Regions from separate parts of the Homo sapiens genome. Here region 1 is linked to region 2. Evidence: promoter capture Hi-C in human tissues and cell types (Jung and others, 2019). All regions are on one chromosome and are shown on one strand. Each heading gives the region's core, a stretch centred on a gene start or on the middle of the fragment in contact. The rest is flanking DNA. Distances are from core to core; before and after follow the strand shown. Region 1 has its middle 28 kb from the start of UNCX. Region 2 holds the start of CYP2W1 (cytochrome P450 family 2 subfamily W member 1).

Evidence for each region. Contacts are between HindIII fragments. The study calls those that stand out against the background at their distance.
Region 1: a fragment that was not itself captured here is called in contact with the fragment with the promoter of CYP2W1 in region 2 in 2 of the 25 tissues and cell types used here (aorta and dorsolateral prefrontal cortex).

What each region holds. Positions count from the first base shown.
Region 1 is chr7:1,202,043-1,207,611 of GRCh38, forward strand. No RefSeq gene overlaps it. Among named protein-coding and RNA genes, the nearest start is that of UNCX, 28 kb to the right of the region's middle. The HindIII fragment of the contact is 9,567 bases long and covers 1-5,569 here.
Region 2 is chr7:979,638-985,240 of GRCh38, forward strand. It overlaps CYP2W1 (cytochrome P450 family 2 subfamily W member 1), which reads left to right and starts at 3,544. Exons shown (of 9, transcript NM_017781.3): 1 at 3,544-3,748; 2 at 4,775-4,937; 3 at 5,313-5,462; 4 at 5,529-5,603. The coding sequence starts at 3,575. It also overlaps a transcript of CHLSN not described here. The HindIII fragment of the contact is 22,766 bases long and covers 803-5,603 here.

The sequences.
Region 1 (5,569 bases), core at 275-2,774, 220 kb after region 2:
AACCTTTCCAGTTTCAGAGACGGCCCTGCCACATCGCCCGGGTGCATCTCTGTGGCTGTGAAAGTGAGAGCCGGAGGTCCCGGGGAGCAGAGGTCGTGAGGCCTCTGTGCTGGCTTCTCGGTATTCCTGTCTTGGTATTCCTGGCAGTTTGGTCCCCTGGAGGTGGCCATGTGGCATGGACAGGGGCCTCTATGCAGAGGCTTTTTCAGCAACTGTGCTGTGCTGCCGCCATGGCCACCTCCGTTGTCATCATCCAAAGGCACCTGCCGTCCACAGCACGGAAGCACGCTCAGGCACTACTTTTTTTATTTTTTATTTTTTACTTTTTTCTGAGATGCAGTCTTGCTCTGTTGCCTAGGCTGGAGTGCAGTGCAGTGACCTCACTGCAACCTCCTCCTCCTGGGTTTGAGCGATTCTCCCACCTCAGCCTCCCGAGTAGCTGGGACTACAGGTGCCCGCCACCATGCCAGGGTAATTTTTGTATTTTTACAAGAGACGGGGTTTTGCCATGTTGGCCAGGCTGGTCTCAAAGTCCTGAGCTCAAGTGATCCGCCTGCCTCAGCCTCTCAAAGTGCTGGGATTACAGGTGTGAGCCATTGCACCCAGCCTATATTTTTCTTTCTTTTTTTTTTTTTTTTTTTTTTTGAGATGGAGTCTTGCTCTGTCACCCAGGCTGGAGTGCAGTGGCGTGATCTTGGCTCACTGCAAGCTCCGCCTCCTGCGTTCACACCATTCTCCTGCCTCAGCCTCCCGGGTAGCTGGGACTACAGGCGCCCGCCACCATGCCTGGCTATTTTTTGTATTTTTAGTAGAGATGAGGTTTTACCATGTTAGCCAGGATGGTCTCAATCTCCTGACCTCGTGATCTGCCCGCCTTGGTCTCCCAAAGTGCTGGGATTACAGGCGTGAGCCATTGCACCTGGCACGCCCAGCCTATTTTTAATTTTTTAGAGGTGGAGTCTCACTGTGTTGCCCCGGCTGGTCTTGAACTCCCAGGCTCAAGCAATCCTCCCACCTCAGCCTCCCAATTATCTGTGACCACAGGTGTGTGTCACCTTGCCCAGATAATTTTAAAATTTTTCCTTTGTAGAGATGGGGTCTTGCTATGTTGTCCAGGCTGGTCTCAAACTCCTGGGCTTAAGCGATCCTCCTGCCTCCGCCTCCCTAAGTGCTGGGGTTACAGGCCTGAGCCACTGTGCCCAGCCTGCAAATTCTTTCCCTTCTTTCTTCCCCAAACTGCCACAGTAGTGTCATGCAGAATATACTTAAAACAGAGGGTCCCTAGTTTCTTATTTTTAGTCCCGATGAAAAGAGAATAGCACTTCACTAGTGAGAATCTGTGGAGCAGTAGAAGAAGAAGGTTTACACTATGCAATTACCAAAGTACAATGGCCTGCACTGACTGAAAGCTGACTTGAGAAGCCATTGAATGGGGCTAATTAATATGTGAAAATTCAAATTTGACATATTTGTGCAAAAGAGGTTGTGCAGCAGAGGCCGGGCGCGGTGGCTCACGCCTGTAATCCCAGCACTTTAGGAGGCCGAGGTGGGAGGATCACCTGAGGTCAGGAGTTCAAGACCAGCCTGGCCAACATGGTGAAACCCCCGTCTCTGCTGAAAATACAAAAATTAGCCGGGTGTGGTGGTGCATGCCTGTAACCCAGCTACTCGGGAGGCTGAGGCAGGAGAATCGCTTGAACCTGGGAGGCGGAGGTTGCAGTGAGCCGAGATTGTGCCATTGCACTCCAGCCTGGGGTACAAGAGCAAGACTCCGTCTCAAAAAAAAAAAAAAAAAAAAGAAAAAAAAGAGATTGTGCAACAGAAAGAAGCCAAATCACATTTAACCTAAAGGGGGCAGCAATTTATTCTCTCTAAGGTTGGAAGGAGTGTTCCTCAGAACCACGGGCGCTGAGGGAGATCTGGAAATGTATGTAAGTTACCGTCACAAGGCACAGATACATGGGAAGACATGACACATTCAGATTTTAGCAATACTTATAAACTCCAACAACAGGTGACGGAGGGAAAAGAGCCGCGGGTAAATTTCGATAGTGATTTAGGCTGGCCGAATGTGAAAATTTTCTCTTTAGTATTCAAATTTGTCAAGTAATTTACTCTGAACTCCCAAATAATAAACAAAATGTGAAATAAATAAGACTGGCCAGGTTGGGCGAGGTGGTTCACACCTGTAATCTCAGAACTTTGGGAGGCTGAGGCACACAGATCACTTAAGGTCAGGAGTTCGAGACCAGCCTGGCCAACATGGTGAAAACCTGTCTCTACTAAAAATACAAAAAATTAGCCAGGCGTGGTGGTGGGCGCCTGTGATCTTACCTACTCAGGAGGCTGAGGCAGGAGAATTGCTGGAACCAGGGAGGTGGAGGTTGCAGTGAGCCCAGATCATGCCATTGTACTCCAGCCTGGGTGACAGAGTGAGGCTCTGTCTCAAAAAAAAAAAAAAAAAATTAAGTAAGGCTGGCCAGAGACCCAGGGGAGGGATGCATGCCAGCCACTCCGCCCAGGCACCTCACTCTGTTTTTGTTTTAGATCTGAGCCTTTGAGGCCAGGGCTGGCTGGACAAATGCCCCCAAAACAGCACGTGTGCACTCCTCCATTGGCAGCCAACCGGGCTTTGCTGGAGCTGTGCGTGTGTGCGTGTGCGTGCGTGTGTGTGTGCGTGTGCGTGCGTGTGTGTGTGTATGTGTGTGTGTGTGCATGGCTAAGGATTTCGGAGAGCAAGACAGTTCCCCTGTAACTCTGATTCTATAAAAAATATGCTGCTTGCAGTCAGGGAGCGGGGTTTCTTTCTGCCCCTCCTGGGCTGTGTGAGGGGCTCCGTATTTATTCTGGCAAGCCTCACAAGTGGTGTTGCCGCGAATTTCTGGTAGCGTCTGGGCTCAGCTGTGCTGGGTGGGGCCTTCTTGGGTTCCAGGCCTTCTTGCCGGAGTTCATTTAAAACCATGATTGGTGACACCAGGAAGAGAACAGCACCAGAGCACAAGTCCTCAGCTGCGCATTTTGGTTTAAGAAAATAGATGACCTCCAGGGACACCAAGCAGCGACTTCATTTTAAATAGAACCACCCACAGATTCTGGTGTTACCTGAAAATCTAAAAGATGTAATTATGAGTGTTCATAGCATTAGTTGACAAGGGTCTGAAAATACTGAAGATAGCTTTCTTTCTTTCTTTTTCTTTTTCTTTCTTTCTTTTTTGAGACAGTTTTGCTCTTGTCGCCCAGGCTGGAGTGCAATGGCATAGTCTCAGCTCACTGCAACCTCTGCCTCCTGGGTTCAAGCAATTTTCCTGTCTCAGCCTCCCAAGTAGCTGGGATTACAGGTGCCCACCATCACACCTGGCTAATTTTTGTGTGTTTTTTTGTATTTTCTTTTTTAGAGAGAGTCTTACTATGTCACCCAAGCTGGAGTGCAGTGGCGCAATCTCTGCTCACTGCAAGTTCCACCTCCCAGGCTCAAGTGATTTCTCCTGCCTCAGCCTCCCGAGTAGCTGGGATGACAGGTGCCTGCCACCAGGCCTGGCTAATTTTTTTTTTGAGACAGAATCTCGCTCTGTTGCCCAGGCTGGAGTGCAGTGGTGCCATCTCGGCTTACTGCAACCTCTGTCTCCTAGGTTCAAGTAATTCTCCTGCCTCAGCCTCCGGAGTAGCTGGGATTACAGGCACCCACCACCACGCCCAGCTAATTTTTGCATTTTTAGCAGAGGTGGGGTTTTGCCATGTTGGCCAGGCTGATCTCAAACACCTGACCTCAGGTGATCCACCCACCTCGGCCTCCCAAAATGCTGGCATTACAGGCGTGAGCCACCACGCCCGGCCTAGGCCTGGCTAATTTTTGTATTTTTAGTACTTATGGGGTTACACTCTGTTGGCCAGGCTGGCCTCAAATTCCTGACCTCAGGAGATCCGCCCACATTGGCCTCCCACAGTGCTGGGATGACAGGCATAAGCCACCACGCCCAGCCTCAAGATAGCTTTCGAGGATTGCACAGGAAAAAAAAAAAATCCCAAACACTCAAACAAATTTGATATCCTTCAACTGAAACCAAGTTCTGTGACATCTGTTGCAACCATGTTTCCAAGCTTCAGTCATTCACACGCCCCGCGCTCAGCCATAGCCACATCCCCAGACCACCTGTATGATCAACTATGATATGTGTTTTTTAAACCAATTTGCTCTTTTAGCTTAAATAAATTCACTTGAGATGAAGCTCTACCTCACTGCTGTAGAATTACACTGTTGGGAGGACGGCAGTGCCCCCTGATTTGAGGTTTTGCTTTCTATTGTTTCAGTCTGAAAATGTTACAGTATCTTGGGAGAGAAAGACTACATTCGCGGGGAGGGAGGAGGGATAGCATTAGGAGATATACCTAATGCTAAATGACGAGTTAATGGGTGCAGCACACCAACATGGCACATGTATACATACGAAACAAACCTGCACGTTGTGTACATGCACCCTAAAACTTAAAGTATAATATTAATAAAATTAAAACAAACAAACAAAAAAACCAAAAGAATGTTGATAAACAAGAAAAAAAAAGAAACCATATAATTGGTTTCTGAAGATTGATACTAGTCAGGTTTAAAGAATCCGTTTGATAAAATCCCAAAAAGATAACTTTGTAAGAAGCCAAAATAAACTTTCATGGCAATGCAAAAAAAAAAAAAAAAAAAAGACTACATTCACATAACTTGTATTACACCCTATTGCTATAATTGCTCTATTTTATTAATAGTTGTTAATCTCTTCCTGTGCCTAATTTATAAATTAAACTTTATCATAGGTGTGTATGTGTGCGTAGGAAAATATCTAGTATAAGTAGGTTTGGGACTGTCTGTGGTTTCAGGCCTCCACTGGGGTCTTAGAACGTATCCCCTCTGGATAAGGGGGGACTCCTGTACTCCTGATTTTTTTTTTTTTTGAGATGGAGTCTCGCTGTGTTGCCCAGGCTAGAGTGCAGTGGTGCGATCTCGGCTCATTGCAACCTTTGCCTCCTGGGTTCAAGTGATTCTCCTGCCTCAGCCTCCCGAGTAGCTGGGATTACAGGTGCCTGCCACCACGCCTGGCTAATTTTTATATTTTTTAGTAGAGATGGGGTTTCACCATGTTGGGCAGGCTGGTTGCAAACTCCTGACCTCAAATGATCCACCCACCTCGGCCTCCTAAAGTGCTGGGATTACAGGTGCAAGCCACTGCGCCCAGCCTACTCTTAATATTTTTTTTTTTCCGAGATGGAGTTTCAGTCTTATCGCCCAGCCTGGAGTGCAATGGCGCGATCTTGGCTCAATGCAACCTCTGCCTCCTGCGTTCGAGTGATTCTCCTGCCTTAGCCTCCCAAGTGGCTGGGATCACAGGCACATGCCACCACGTCCAGCTATTTTTTTTGTATTTTTAGTAGAGACGGGGTTTCATCTACTCTTAATTTTTAATGGGCATAGTTGAATTAACAAAATCTATGATGAACTAGAATCTTACCCTCCTCCTGAACCAGACACAAGGACCTTAGGTTTCTTCAGTTGTAACAACCATCCTCTGTGTTACATGTTATT
Region 2 (5,603 bases), core at 2,294-4,793:
GCTACTCGGGAGGCTGAGGCAGGAGAATCGCTTGAACCTGGGAGGCGGAGGTTGCAGTGAACTCCAGCCTGGGCAACAGAGAGGGAAACTCCGTCTCAAAAAAAAAAAAATGCAGGGATTCAAGCAAGAGCCGTGGGCACCTGCGCCATGCCTGCTCAGTCTCTGGGACATTCTTCCAGGGGGCGCGCCCAGTCACTGAGGCAGGGCGCACACTTTTTTCCGCACAGTTGCAAGGATGCCTTAAACTAAATTTCTGGAAACCGGGTCACTGAGCCAAGGGACAGTTCCTTTTTGATGTCTGGTGGATCTCTAGTACACTGCAAAAGCGTCCCGTGAAACTCCACTGGTGGAATGAGCAAACACGGCTTCTGGCCTCTGCTACTTTGTGTCACAAAGGGGGAAGACCACAAGCCCTCCTGTGGAGGGAGAAGCGCAGTGTTACGTTACGCAAAGACAGTGTGGTTGGGAGAATCTGTGCGGCCATCTCTGGAAGCCGCCATCTGCCACAGCCGACAGGTGCGGGCCTGAGTTTGGAACCAGGTCTGTCTGACTCCAGCCCCTCCGGGGGAGCCCACCTACCCACCCACCTCACCCACCCTGCCTCTGATGTCAGGGGCAGGCAGGACCTGAGCCAGCCAATCACAGCACTGCATTCCTCCTGGTCACAGAGATGGCTCAGGCCTGAGTATCTGTCTGGCAGGCCTGGACCAATCAGGTCTGATCAGAACAGTCCCAAGTTCCACTTGAGCAGCCAGGCTGCAGTTGGCACACGTCTCTGCAGGGCGCTGGAGGTCCACCGGACATCAGAAAGCAACAATGCCTTGGCTCAGCCACCTGGTTTCTAGGAATTTATTTTAAGATATCCTTGCAACTGTGCCCATCCTTGCAAGTATGCACACAGATATTTTTATCAGGATGTTCTGTGACAGCCTAAGATTGGAAACAATGTAAATATGCAAATATGCACACCCGGCCATGCCCCCCAGAGCAAGCAACACGTACAGGCAGCCGTTAGAGGAGTACTGTTAATTCCCCAGTAACAGTTACTTTTTTTTTTTTTTTTTTTTTGAGATGGAGTCTCACTCTGTTGCCCAGGCTGGAGTGCAGTGGTGCCATCTCAGCTCACTGCAAGCTCCGCCTCCCGGGTTCACGCCATTCTCCTGCCTCAGCCTCCTGAGTAGCTGGGACTACAGGCGCCCGCTATCACGCCCGGCTAATTTTTTGTATTTTTAGTAGAGATGGGGTTTTGCCGTGTTAGCCAGGATGGTCTCGATCTCCATCTCCTGACCTCGTGATCCGCCCACCTCAGCCTCCCAAAGTGCTGGGATTACAGGCATAAGCCACTGCGCCTGGCCAACGAGTTACTTTTAAAAGAGGGCTGGGCACTGTGGCTCACGCCTGTAATCCCAGTGCTTTGGGAGGCCAAGGCAGGTGGATCACTTGAGGTCAGGAGCTCGAGATCAGCCTGGCCAACATGGCAAAACCCCATCTCTACTAAAAATACAAAAATTAGCTGAGTGTGGTTGCATATGCCTGTAATCCCAGCTACCCGGGAGGCTGAGGCAGGAGGATCACTTGAACACGGGCGATGGAGGTTGCAGTGAGCCAAGATCATGCCACTGCACTCTAGCCTGGATGACGAGAGTGAGACTCCATCTCAAAAAAAAAAAAAAAGAAAAGAAAAGAAAAAGAGGCCGGCCCGGCATTGGCTCATGCTAGTAATCCCAGCGCTTTTGGAGGCGGCCACAGTAGGATCGCTTGAGCCCAGGAGGAGTTGAAGACCAGCCTCTAGACTCCGTCTCTAAAAGAAACTTACAAAATTCCCAGCACTTTGGGAGGCCGAGGCGGGCGGATCATGATGAGGTCAAGAGATCGAGACTGTCCTGGCCAACATGGTGAAACCCCGTCTCTACTAAAGATACAAAAAGTAGCCAGGTGTGGTGGCATGTGCCTGTAATCCCAGCTACTCGGGAGGCTGAGGCAGGAGAATCGCTCCAACCCGGGAGGCGGAGGTTGCAGTGAGCCGAGATCACGCCATTGTAGTCCAGCCTGGCAACAGAGTGAGATTCCGTCTCAAAAACAACAAAAACCCAAAACTTAAAAAATTAGGCCAGGTGCAGTGGCTTACACCTGCAATCCCAACACTTTGGGAGGTCGAGGCAGGAGGATTGCTTGAACCCAGGAGTGTGAGACCAGCCTGAGCAACGTAGCAGGACCTCCATTTCTACATAAATAAATAAATAAAGTTAGCTAGGCTGGGTGGTGCATGCCTGTAGTCCCAGCTATTTGGGAGGCTGAGGTGGGAGGATGGCTTGAGCCCCGGAGGTGGAGGCTGCAGTGAGCCTGTACTCACAGCACGGTAATCCAGCCTGGGCAACAGAGCAAGACCCTGTCTCAAAAACAAAACACACAAAAATCAAAAGTATTCCCTGAATTAATTAAGTAAGCTTTGCTAGGCAGGTAGGACCCCCAGCCTACCCAGTAGTGGCCCTGGTATGAGGCACTCCCTCCCCGCCGCAGCCGCCCAGCCCTGGCCCTGAGGCTGTACAGCAGGATAGAGGTAGTGAGCTCCCCACCACAGGAGGCGTGCAACTGTGCCTGGGGCTTTCCCTCCCAGCTAATCAAGGGGGACCAACCCGGGAGGGGTGAGGGCCTCAGGCTGCCTCGGCTCTGCGGTTCGTACAGGGCATGGGCAACGCCCCAGAGACAGGCTGTGGGGAGGGTCCCGCCTGCTGGCACCAGCTCCAGCTGCCTCATGTCAGGGCAGGCTGTGCAAAGCAGGCCCGGCCGCTTCTGCTGCCAGCAGCCCTCCCACCCCTCACAGCGGTTTAGGAGACAGATGGACAGGGCTCGTAAACCCCGCCACCTGCCACCCGGCAGCCCTTCCATGTTCCTGTCCTAGCTCAGAGGGTTGCATCCCCTGCCCGGGCGGCAGCCCTCGAAAAGGAGCAGGCTGCTACCTGGGGCGAGAACACCCTCAGGGAGATGCAGGTGGTGGCCTGTGAGGACTGTGGGATTTGAGTCCCCTCATGGGCCTCCCTGAGGTCTCACTCCTGTCCCTTGCCCCGTGGGGAGCTGATCAGAGAAGAGCTGGGTGCACACGGATGGGGTTTGGGAGAGGCCTGCAAACCCTGAGCTCCACAGGGTCCCACTCAGAGCCTGTGAAAGGCAGGGGGCTCCCCTCCAAGCCAGGGCCTCGGCCCCAAAGCCCTGTGAATCCCAGTTCTGAGGGGTGGCCAAGGCCAAGGGGCCTGGACTGGCAGGTTCAGCAGAACCAGGGGCAGAACAGTCCACGTGCCACATCCTTCTCTCTGGCCAGGAGACATGGATGCCTGACCCCAGAGGGCCCCCGTCCTGCCCTCCCCTCCCCGGCCCCACCAGGGCCTCAGCCCCACATTCCACGCAGGCCTGCAGCTTTAAGCCATCCGCTGGGGGCTGCCCTGCAAACTGCTCGTTCCACATTCTCGGGGTGGTGGGGTGGGTGGGGTGCGGGCACGCCCTCCCGCGGAGGCCTATAAGGGTGCGGGGGGGACGGGGCCCAGGAGGGGAGTGGAGCCTCACCAGCCACGTCCTCATGGCCCTGCTGCTCTTGCTGTTCCTGGGCCTCCTGGGGCTCTGGGGGCTGCTCTGCGCCTGCGCCCAAGACCCCTCCCCAGCTGCCCGGTGGCCCCCGGGGCCTCGCCCGCTGCCGCTCGTCGGGAACCTGCACTTGCTGCGTCTGTCGCAACAGGACCGGTCCCTGATGGAGGTAAGTCAGGGAGCCCGGGCAGCTCTTGCCGCTTGGACAGCTGCCGTGTCCTGGCCCCCCTCCTGGGGAAGCCCAGCCCGGTTTCCACTGCCTGTTCCCACATGGTGCCGGGCCCAGCGGGGCACGCAGGAGGCCGGAGGGCCCACCCTGCTTTTGGGAGGGGAAAGCCACCCCGTCCCACAGGGAAGCAGACACACTGAGTACGAAGAAGCCCTGGAGGTGCCACCCAGGGCCCGGCGCGGGAGCAGGAGTCTGGAGGGCTCCCTGGAGGCGGTGGCGTCTGCTGAGAGCCCGCAGGAGGCCAGGCTTAGGGACAGCAGAGGGGAGGAGGGCCTGGGCCTGTCGGCTGCCTGCTCAGCCCCCCTCGGCCCTCAGGTGTTCAACAGCAAACACTTCCCACTTTTGAGCCTCTGTTTCCTCATCTGTGAAATGGGAAGAGGACCTGTGCCTCCTGGGCAGGGATGCTGAGGACAGAGGGTACGGGGACACGGCACGGGGCAGCCTGACTAGCACTGTCGCTCTGTCCTCGCTCAGGCAGGCAGGGTCAGTGGGACAGGGCTGACCAGTCAGGCCCGGGCCCTGCCTCCGGCTGCCCCCAACTGCGGGCTGGGGTGCTGCTGGCCGGGCTGTAGCCGAAGACGGATCAGGGTCTCTGGGGGCCGAGCCTGTCAGGCCCTCACTCTGTGCAGACTCTGGCCTTTCAGAATGTGCCACCCCAGCAGACAGCCAGCCCCCGACCTTGCCGCCTGGACTCAGGGCTTGAGCCCCCCAGGAATTTTGGCTAAAAAGAAAATCCCACAACAGCCATGCCAAGCACCAGATGGCGAGAGGGCTCTGTGGGCTCCAGGCTGGGCGCTGCCCCCTCCACCCTGCACCACTGGCTTTATGGCATCTAGGCGTGCCCCCTCCACCTGCCCCCATTTTCCCTCTGTCCCCACCCCTACCCAGCACAGGCCCGGCCTGAGGGGACCTAAGGGGGGTCTTGTGGGTGAGGGCTGCCCGGGTGACCCCCGCCATCCCTGCCAGCTCTCAGAACGCTACGGGCCGGTGTTCACCGTGCACCTGGGGCGCCAGAAGACGGTGGTGCTGACGGGGTTCGAGGCGGTCAAAGAGGCGCTGGCGGGCCCCGGGCAGGAGCTGGCCGACCGGCCTCCCATCGCCATCTTCCAGCTCATCCAGCGAGGTGGAGGTCGGTGTGTGGCCGGCGCTACGGGGCCTACTGGGTGTGGGGGCACCTGGACCCCAGGAGGGGTGGGGGCTCCAGCAGCGGGAGAGGCTCCCAGGGTGGCCTGGGGAAGAGCAGGCAGGAGCTGGGCCTCCGGGCTGGTGCTGAGAAGGGCCAGGTGTCCACACAGCAGGTCAGGTGCTCAGAACCAGCAAGCGGGGTTCTTTTCATCCCAAGTCAAGAGGGGCCAGGGCCAGCCCAGGGGGACGGGAGTGGGGATGGGGGTGAGGGCCCAGCCAGTCTCGCTGCCCTGTCAGCCTGCTCACTTCCTGCCCACTTGCCTGGCGGGGCTGGCTGGGGTGGGAACCTGGGCTCACCACGCACTGTATCTGCCTACAGGCATCTTCTTCTCATCTGGGGCGCGCTGGAGGGCTGCCCGCCAGTTCACGGTGCGTGCCCTGCACAGCCTGGGCGTGGGCCGGGAGCCGGTGGCTGACAAGATTCTGCAGGAGCTGAAATGCCTCTCTGGGCAGCTGGATGGCTACAGAGGTGAGCAGGGGGCCGGGGACGCCCCTCCCCGGGCCTGGACGTGCCTGAGGCCCGTCTCCCTCGCAGGCCGGCCCTTCCCGCTGGCCCTACTGGGCTGGGCTCCCTCCAATATCACCTTCGCGCTCCTCTTCGGCCGCCGAT